Regions from separate parts of the Homo sapiens genome. Here regions 2 and 3 are each linked to region 1. Evidence: promoter capture Hi-C in 16 types of primary human blood cells and fetal thymus (Javierre and others, 2016). All regions are on one chromosome and are shown on one strand. Each heading gives the region's core, a stretch centred on a gene start or on the middle of the fragment in contact. The rest is flanking DNA. Distances are from core to core; before and after follow the strand shown. Region 1 holds the start of SYCP2 (synaptonemal complex protein 2). Region 2 holds the start of MIR646HG (MIR646 host gene). Region 3 has its middle 23 kb from the start of MIR646HG.

What was found. Contacts are between HindIII fragments. The CHiCAGO score rates a contact against its expected background, and 5 or more counts as called.
Region 2: a fragment that was not itself captured here is called in contact with the fragment with the promoter of SYCP2 in region 1 in 3 of 17 cell types (monocytes, megakaryocytes and neutrophils); the score reaches 7.0 in monocytes.
Region 3: a contact is called between a fragment that was not itself captured here and the fragment with the promoter of SYCP2 in region 1, in 1 of 17 cell types (neutrophils). The highest score is 5.1, in neutrophils.

What each region holds. Positions count from the first base shown.
Region 1 is chr20:59,931,979-59,935,146 of GRCh38, reverse strand. SYCP2 (synaptonemal complex protein 2) reads left to right here and starts at 1,510. Exons shown (of 45, transcript NM_014258.4): 1 at 1,510-1,578; 2 at 2,993-3,085. It also overlaps a transcript of FAM217B not described here. RefSeq lists a silencer at 820-1,219. The HindIII fragment of the contact is 1,592 bases long and covers 86-1,677 here.
Region 2 is chr20:60,135,606-60,138,773 of GRCh38, reverse strand. MIR646HG (MIR646 host gene) reads right to left here and starts at 282. Exons shown (of 5, transcript NR_046099.1): 1 at 130-282. The HindIII fragment of the contact is 1,061 bases long and covers 720-1,780 here.
Region 3 is chr20:60,114,347-60,117,514 of GRCh38, reverse strand. No RefSeq gene overlaps it. Among named protein-coding and RNA genes, the nearest start is that of MIR646HG, 23 kb to the left of the region's middle. The HindIII fragment of the contact is 2,269 bases long and covers 605-2,873 here.

The sequences.
Region 1 (3,168 bases), core at 261-2,760:
AATTTTGAAGCACTCTTCGATCTTCTTACATTTTGTGTTATACATTATTAGTACTTAAACGTATAATTCAAAAGCATTGAAAGCTTTGAACATATAAAATCCCCTCAAATCCCTGCGTACACCTGTGTACCTTAGATTGCATATGTAATCTGTCAGCTCTGAATTAAAAAACTAAGATATCAAAATTAAGTTCAATGGGGGTAGTTACAAAGTTGTCAAGAAGTTGGTAATTCTAGCTAAGCAGAATATTTAAAACACCTCTGAGAGCTTATTTACTGTGATTTGATCTGCTCTGGTCCACAACTGAGCTTTGATTCTATTACCTTGTGTTTATTTTTTTCAGGTGCTTTCCACCGCACATTTAAATCTTAATCCCATATTTTTAAACAATTAGTGCCTTTTAGATAAGAAATTAAAATGTTATTAAAATATAATTTTAAATTTTGATTTGAAGATACCTATAAAAGTTTAACTACACATACAATTCAACTTTTAAAAATTGATCCGACACAAATATTAATCCAAAGGTGGTTTGCTGCAGTATTATTTGTAATAGAAGTGTAGGCTCATCAGTGGAGGATTGAATTCCTCGGATGAAGTTAATCCACATGATTAAATAATTACGAAGCTGTTAGAAAGACCGAGCTGCATCTCAGTGCACGTGGAACAGTTTCCATCTCAGAACGCGAGCACGGGGAAAACACGCAGAAGACTGAGCGCCGAACACCGACGCCCTCTGCGAGCCAAGGGGCAAGGAGACCCTTTCGCGGCTGTGCCTGTCTCAGAAGGGCCTGCGATTTTTTACACAAGCACCCGCTGGCTGCATAAGTTAAACGGATCTCTTAAATGGAAGCGTCTGAAAGAGCCTAGGAATACACAGTTGGGTACCCAGCTCAGCACCCCGTCTCCGGACCTGCGGTCTCTCCCGCCCTCCGGCACCCGCACCCAGGAGCCCAGGCGGCCCTGCGCCCCCTGCCGGCAGGAGCCAGGCCTCACCCAGGAGTCGTCGGCCCGGCGCCCTGGTCCCCCGGTCCAGCTCGCCCCTGCAGGGCTGGCTGGAGCCGCGGGTCCCAGTGGCTCTGGGGACGCATAGCGCGGGGATGGGCTTCTCCTGGTCCCGCCCGCGCTTCCGTCCCTTCCATCCCTTCCTGCTCGCCTGTCCCGGGACCAGGGCCCCAGTCAAGGCAGCGAGTCTCCTCGCTGGCGGGGGTGACTCCGCTCGCGGGGCGTTCATCAGGAGAGCATAGCGCGAGAGGACGGGCCGAAGCGCGGGGACAGCGGGGACCCACTAACCTGAGGGCCTGGCCTGAGCCGCGCCCACAGCGTCCCCCTTGGCTCAGGCCTCGGGCGACCCCGGCGAGCGTTGGCGGGGGTGGGGGGGATGGGGGGGGCGGGACCTGGCTGGCGGCGACGCCGATTGGACGCACTATCGACCGCACCTGGCGCGGATTGGACGGGCGCTTCCCGCCTTCCGCCGTTCGCCGGAGGCGCTGCGGCGGTCCCTGAGGCGCAGAGTTGCGACGCTCGGCGGCATAGGGGGCGGCTCCACCGACACTACGCGGACGCCTCCTGCCGCAGGCAGGTTGAGCAGAGTGCCTGGGTGGGCTTCCCCCACGGCGGGGCGCGGAGGGAGGGTGGGGCTTCGGCTTGGCCTTTCAAGCCGGCAGGCGAGAAGCTTCCGACGGTTGAGGCGGAGCCGTTGTGGAAGCTGCCGAGGGGGAGGGGGTGCGGTTCTGCGGCAGTGGGCGGAGGGGAGGCGCCGAGGCTGGGCCAGGGCGTGGGCTGTGCAGAGTTCGCGGCGAGGGTGGCTCGCGCAGGCGCGAGGCTCCCCATCAGCACCTGCCTGGCCAGCCTCGGCCTCGGGGATGGGAAATGGGCGCTCGGAGCCGCCCCCGCGCGTGGGCGACTCGGTCAAGGTGGCTGAGGCGCGGGGCGGTGCGCTTGGCGAGCGGGGAGCAGGCCTGGGGCTGCGCGCGTCGCCGGCCCGAGGAGGCTGAGGGGTGCGGGAGAAGCGGTGGCGACGGGAGCCCTGGGGACCGCTGCTCGCCTGTCTCCGGGACATCTGAAGGGGGGTTGGCGCTGCGGCCTGGGGCGCATCTCGGGTGTGTGTGTGCTTTGTTGGTTCGGGGGTGACCCTGGGAAAAGGGTCACCGTGCCGGCGGTGGGAGCAGGGACTTCGCCTTCGGCCTCGTTGTTGCCACTGCCGGTTCCACTTAGGGAAGAAGGGAGTGCGCGCAAAACCTTCCTCCTGCTCGGCGCCTTCAGTCCCTTCTCTCCCTCCCGCCGTCCCCACCTGCGGCCTCTCCTTGCGGTTGAGGCCGCCAGCCCCTCCGCGCAGCTGGGCCTGATGCGTCCCGCGGCGGCTCAATGCGCGACACGTGGCTCCACGTGCGGCCTTTTCTGGACCGGGCTCCAGGCTGGCCGAGCATCTGCGAATACGGCAGCGTGGTTTTTTTTTGTTGTTTTTTTTCCCGAGACGGAGTCTCGCTCTGTCACCCAGGCTGGAGTTTAGTGGTGCGATCTCGCGTCACTGCAACCTCCATCTTCCGGGTTCCAGCGATTCTCCTGCTTCAGCCTCCGGAGTAACTGGGACTACTTGGCGCGCCACCACGCCCAGCTAATTTTGTATTTTTAGTAGAGACGGGTTTTCTCCATGTTGGCCCGGCTGGTCTCGAACTCCTGACCTCAGGTGATCCACCTGCCTCGGCTTCCCAAAGTGCTGGGATTACAGGTGTGAGCCACCTCGCCCGGCCTACATTTTTTAGTAATGATGGGAGGAGGAGGACGCCTTCCCTCCCCTTCATTCACCTTTAATGTCTTTTTGGACACCTTAGCTATGTTAGTTACCAGGGCAGAGGGGACTTTGAATTATCTACTGCTGCTTGCATTCATTCAGCAGTTTTTCCTTTGGGGGAAAATCTTTGCCTCCCCCATCTGCCAAATTGTTTTCTTTGTTGTTGTTTTTATCCGTAACGCTTTTATCTGCCTGCAGATACACAATCATCATCTTACTAGTTCTCTGTGTTGCTCGCTAACCAGTCCCCCAGTTCAGTAGACTGGAGCCCAGAGCCTGCTTACTTGTCAGGTAAATCCACGCTTCTCTTGAAACATTATTATTCTGTTCTCGGTTTCCGAAGTCGTTCTGTTACATAGTAGTAGTTCCTAAAG
Region 2 (3,168 bases), core at 1-2,500, 200 kb before region 1:
TGAATAATCATGTAAGACCCCCATAAAGGGGGTTTCCCCAGTGTCGGCCAGCACTGCCTCGCCTTTGAGCGGCCGCTCCGATCCGCTGGCAGAGTGCGCTTTCGCTGTGCGATCAACTCCCTTGCTTACCTTTACTTTGGACGTGCTCTCAAGTTCTTTTGTGTGGCGAAGTCAAGACCCTGAACCGGTCCACCAGCAACAGTTCTTTCGGAGTCCCTCAACCACAGGCCCTGAAAGCCGCTGAGTTAAGTCTTTAAACTGCGGGAGAGCCTGGGAGCATCTGAAACGCAAAAGGACTCCCAGTGGATAGGGAGGCAGCACCCTGACCGGAACCGGAAGAGGTTTGCCGGTGAGCCTGAGTCTCCACACACAGTGATCCGGGCACCCGGGCTGCCGTGTGGCAGGTGAAACCGCGTGTGGTGTGGATGTTTCTCCAGCTGTGTTCTGTCGAGCCCCTAAAAGTCTGGCCTGCATTGGAAGGGCCTCCCCAGTGTCCTCGTTTCTGTTCAAACAGAAAAGTTCTTATTTTCTGTATTTGTGGTTTTTGCTTCCTCATATAATTTCGGTTGCACAAAGCTAAAAAATATTTGAAAACCTCTACTTAATCGTATAACTAAATGCAACATTATCTTTTGCTTATTTAATAACTATTTTAATATTTATTTTCTATTTATATTAATAGTGATAATAAAAATATAGCTTGGAGTGAGAGAAAAGCTTTCCTCTCTGTTAACTATCACTGTATCATTTAACTACCACTAGCTATTCCTCACAACGGTTTCTAAAGTGTAAGCACCTGCCACCTCATTAGCCTCTAAGCTCCACAGTGCCAGGGACTCTTTGCCTTAGTCTCTGCTATGTGCTCAGAATACCCAGCACATACTAGGTTTGAACAAAATGCATTTTGGAGAGTGGATGCTGCTGCCACCTGGTGACAGCATACCCACATTTCATGCTTAGCACTTTGATTACTTAATGAAATTCATGAGGAATGGAATCAGAAAACCTAAGACATGCATCTGTGTGATAGCAATCTCACTTTCCTCACTTAGCTTTTTCTGTTTCCCTACTCTGCACAGATTGGAGACATCTGAGTTTTCTCTGCCCCCATCACCTGCACCTGCCCTGGTGGCATGCACTTGCACCTCCTCTGTCTGGTATTAGGTTGGTGCAAAAGTAATTTCTGTTTTTGCCATTACAACTGCATAAACTGCGATTACTTTTGCACCAACCTAATAATAGGGCTTGCCCCTCCAGAGGATAGAATCTTTGCTTGTCACCTTAGAACTTCTCACACAGAGCACTGCATTCATCAAACCCTGGTCTCAGCCATCCTCGGGGCACATGGAAGGTCATGCCCATAAATCAATGCCTCAGCCAACATCTGGTCTCCCCTTCTGCCATTCCCTGTGTCCCTGCCCTGGCACCAGGCATTTGCAGGTGCAGGGGGCAACATCATTTAGTTAGCTTCATCTGGGCAGGGAGGAGCATTATTAAACATGAGAGATAGCTGTTGGCTCATGGAAAAGATTAGTTTTAAGCTATTTAAGGCAAAGCAATAAAGGATGTGGTTTCCTCCTCTGACATGCTTCCTAATTTGTAGATTCATATGACATCACACTGGATTACAAAGCCACATTACTCTGATTGGTAATATTATGCTATCCTAATTCAGTTTGTATAATTATTTAATTTTTTAGGACTGCTCTCAAATATTAACATTGTGTTCGGTAGAGGCCAGAAAAAATTGGGAACATGCATCCACACACGTGGAGAAGCTTAATTGCTAGAATAATGCAGGGCAATTATTGTAATGAGAACAAAGCCTCATGTCTGGCATACACATGTGACTGTGTCCAGCCCAACTTCCACTGAAGTGACAGTCACTGGACTCGAAGCTCCTCAAGGACAGGGGCTGTGTCGCCTTCACAGACATGACTCATTGCCGGTGCTCAATCAGGGTTGAGCTGACTTGACTTGAAGCCAAATAAGGACAAAGAAAGGTCAGGCAGTCCTGAAAAAGCCAAGGGTCTGAGAGACAACACTCGCTGTTGTCCTCGCTGTTTAATTCTCTGAGGTCCATTAGGAAGTAGGTAGGAGCCATGTCATCATGGCCACTTGGGCCAATCGTCTGCACAGATGGGGAAGGCATCTGCCCCCACAGTGAACACTAGGCTTATCTGCCTCCTAAATCTCTCTCCAGGCTAACTTCCATGGTTATTCAAATCCCTCTATTAAATATTCAGACCTCCAGCCCCTGGACCTCTATGGTCCTCCTGACAAAGCTAGAGCTGTGATTTCTCTGCACCTCCATTCTTCATCTGCAAAATGGGGCCATAGAGTCTACTCCACTGGGTTGAGAAGCTACTGGAAACCAGGCTGCCAAGTGCCTGATGCAGTATCTGTCTTCAGCTGGCCTCCACACAAAGACAGTTTCCTCTTTTAAATTATATCTAGACTTTTAATCATTTTTTTACATTTTTATGGGTACACAGTAGGTGTATATATTTATGGGGAACATGAGATGTTTTGATACAGGCATGCAATGCACCATAATCACACTATGGAAAATGGAGTATCCATCTCCTCAAGCATTTGTCCTTTGTGTTACAAACAATCCAATTATATTCTTAGCTATTTTTAAATGTACAATTAAATTATCGTTGACTCTACTCACCCTATTGTACTATCAAACACTAGGTCTTATTCATCCCCATGTCCGTCCTCCTCACCCCCGCAACACTTCCCAGCCTCTAGTATCCATCCTTCTACCCTCTATCTCCATGAGTTCAATTGTTTGGATTTTTGGATCCCACAAATAAGTGAGAACATGTGATGTTTGTCTTTCTGTGCCTGGTTTATTTCACTTAAGATGATGACCTCCAATTCCATCCCTGTTGTTGCAAATGACAGGTTCTTATTCTTTTTTATGGCTGAATAGTACTCCATTGTGTAAAGTACCACATTTTGTCCTCTTATTGCTTTTCGTCACTGCTGAGAGCCAGTCCTATCTGCTGCTTTTCCAGGGTTTCCTAGGAAGATGCCCACTCTATGTGTTAGACCAGAAGTTTAAGTTAACGTGGTCTATGGACAATCACAGCCCATGCACCCATGGCAGGGCCTCAGGTACCTGCATGTCACCAACTCCTTACCCCAGAGGAGATGCCC
Region 3 (3,168 bases), core at 490-2,989, 180 kb before region 1:
CACTCACAGTATGTCTCTCCCGTGTCAGCTCAAATATTCAATTTCAAGCTCCTATCTGACCCGTGCTGCTTAACTGAGAGCCGTTCATCTTCTTCATGTTTAGGAAACTGCAAGCTCAGTATAAATGTGCCATCCTCTGGTGTCTCTTAAATTCTGTCTGGAAGAACGCCACGGGGAAAGGGTTTAGCATATCTCCTTCAGCATTTGGGAGCTCAGAATTCACAGGGAGATTAACACATATGCTGTAAGTCACGATGGGGAGAGCTATAAATAGAAGAGCCTCTTTCCACACAGTTGAGGATCTTCTGGTATAACCACAATACTTTATAACCCTGATCATCACACAAGGGGAAGCATGAAAATGACCGTGCTCTGAGAGAAGATATTTTATGCATGAACTGGTTTCATTTCTGGAATCTGTAAGCTTTTAAGAGGCAGGAGTCACGGCACATTCCACACTTCATCCACGTTACACCTAAAGGTTCATTGGGAGCACCTGTGAGCATACTTTGGGGTCATAAATCCCAAGGGTTTCTGGAAGGCTACTTCCAAACGCACTGGGCAATGTTTTTAAAGGATGTGCTTAAAAAAAAAAAATGAAGCTTCCAAGTTGCATTTCTTTCAATAGAAAACTGAAGCAGGTCATTGGGGCTCATTTCTTTCTTCCCCCAAATCTGCCCACATATTCAGTTGTTGTGTCTCCTGTCTCCTAAAAACACCAGGTGCTTTTGCTTTTCACTATTTTACCCCCGTCAGGCAGGGGTTGGAGGCTGGCCGGCCACGCCCCCCCCATTAGTCAGGGGTTGGAGACTGCCCGGCCACGCCCCCCACATCAGGCAGGGGTTGGAGGCTGGCTGGCCACGCACCCCACATCAGGCAGGGGTTGGAGGCTGGCCGGCCACGCACCCCACATCAGGCAGGGGTTGGAGGCTGGCAGGCCACCCCTCGCCAACTTTATCCAGTGATTTTATTTACAGCAGGTCTATCACTTTCAAGAACTCAACAAAACCATGACTCAAAAAGGAAAGAAGGAAATCAGGCAACCGCTTCTGAACGCCAAGGCCTTGCTTAGTAAGCTATCACTTAGATCAGGATTTCTCAGCCTCCGTCATGCCGAGATTCGGGGTTGGATCTTTCTCTGTGGCGGAGCTGCCCTGTGCATGTTACGTGTCAGCAGCATCCCACCTGCACCCGCTAGATGAATGCGCACACAGTAGTCTCAGCACTGCCCCCAGGTGTGACAACCAAAAATGTCTCCAGACACTGACCCATGGTGGCCCTCAGTGGAGAACCTCTGAGCCAGATGTTTATTTCACACCTATAGGACTGTAATGGAAGTCATCTAAGCTGAGTGCCAAGGCCTAATTTCCTAAGGACCCAAAACTATCCCACGAGGAAGCCTGATGGTCTCTGAGGTTTCTTCAGCTCTCACTTCTGTGGCTCACACCCAGAGCCCACAACAGAGACATGTCCAACCATTTCCCAGGCCTCCTTTTCAGAAAGTGCTGGATGCTTTTGAGTGCTAGAAGGGGAACCTGACAGAGAAAACAAAACCCGCAGGAGGTGGCTGCTGTCACGACCGCCCCCCGAAACCCGCTCCTCCAATTCCCTGCTTTCCTGTTGCTAAACGCAGAGTCAGCTGTCCAGCTAGAAATAAAAGGTTTATGTTGGGTTGCCACATAGATTCTTATGGCAATAACATTTGGAGCCTTTTACTGGGACATAAACTGTAAGCTAAAATGTCACCCGGTTTTATTAGACAATCTAAACGTAATTGCAAATAAGTTGATGTACTCATAAAAGATGATGTAAGACTGTCATCCCAGCAGCGGCATGGGGACTGGCCAGGAGCACAGGGCGATGGCAAAGTGCTGATCTGCCCTCTGCAACCAAAACCGTCCCCAGATTCCTGAAGTACAAAGAGGGAAGAGTTATGTTGGCAGGCAATGGCAGGAAGCAACATTATTACTTAATAATAATAACACAGGGAACAAGAGGTTAAAAGAGGTCAGTGCAAACCATGTCCCAAGACCATTTTCTCTGGAATAAAATTTTCATAACGAGCTCTAAGTCTTTTTTATGGGCAGGCAGAACGTCATTGGGAAATTAATGATGGATCTGAATGATAAATCTGCTTTCATATAGAAGCGTTGGTTTTTTGAAAATATGCTTTTATGCCTCAAAAGTTGTAAATGAGAACAAGACAAGGATATATCCAGAGGGATCATTATTCCAAGCTGGGCCAGCTGTCCCACCACCTGATTTCATCAAATTTATTCTAAATAAAAATATAGATCAACAAAAATCTACTTTTTTGTGCAAGAATGGGTAATTTACTTTTTTAAAAGATAAAATATGCTCAATATTGTGAAGACATCATGGTTTACATAGGAATCTTGTGTGTTTAACATACAGCTTCAGAAGATTCACCCAGGATAACAAACGTGAGAACAAATTTTTGTGAATTTCAAAATGCTCATCAGTTTACCATCTCAGGCCATTTTTCTTAATTATTAATTGGTCAGTTTGCAAAAGTCATGATATGACTTTCATGGGCTGCCAACAAAGCACACAAACCAGGTGGCTTAAATCAACTGGAATTTATTCTCTCTCACTTCCGAAGGCCAGAAATCTGAAATCGAGGTGTCTATGAGGCATCTTCTGTCTGGAGACTCTAGGGAGGGTCCTTCCTTGCCTCTTCCAGCTTCTGGTGGTTGCTGGAAATCCCTGGTATTACTTGGCCTTGTAAAATAACAACACAGAGAGAGACTTTCCAAAGAGTTGATTCGGGAATAGCAGAGGATTGCAATCCAGGATATGCATTCTCTGGTGAGCCATAAGCACATCCAAAGAGGTTGGGACTAGGAGAAGCTTTTAAAGACAAAAGGGAGAAGTCCACCTTAAGTTGTTTTGAAATGAAGACCATTGATCACAGGGGCTTATTCCGGGAGTTGGTGTTAGCTCATTGGTGGAAGCAGCCAGTGTTGGACAAGTTATGTGCATCCATAAGTGGCTTACCTGGAATCCTGTGTTTTTGAGGAGTTCCTTGCATAGTTCCTGTCATAGGCATACAAGCAGGGATGTCTTGTGATAAGTCAGGCATGTGGTGGGGGTGCTGCACCCCATTTTACTATGGTTGATGTAGCGACTCCATTTTTATATCAATGA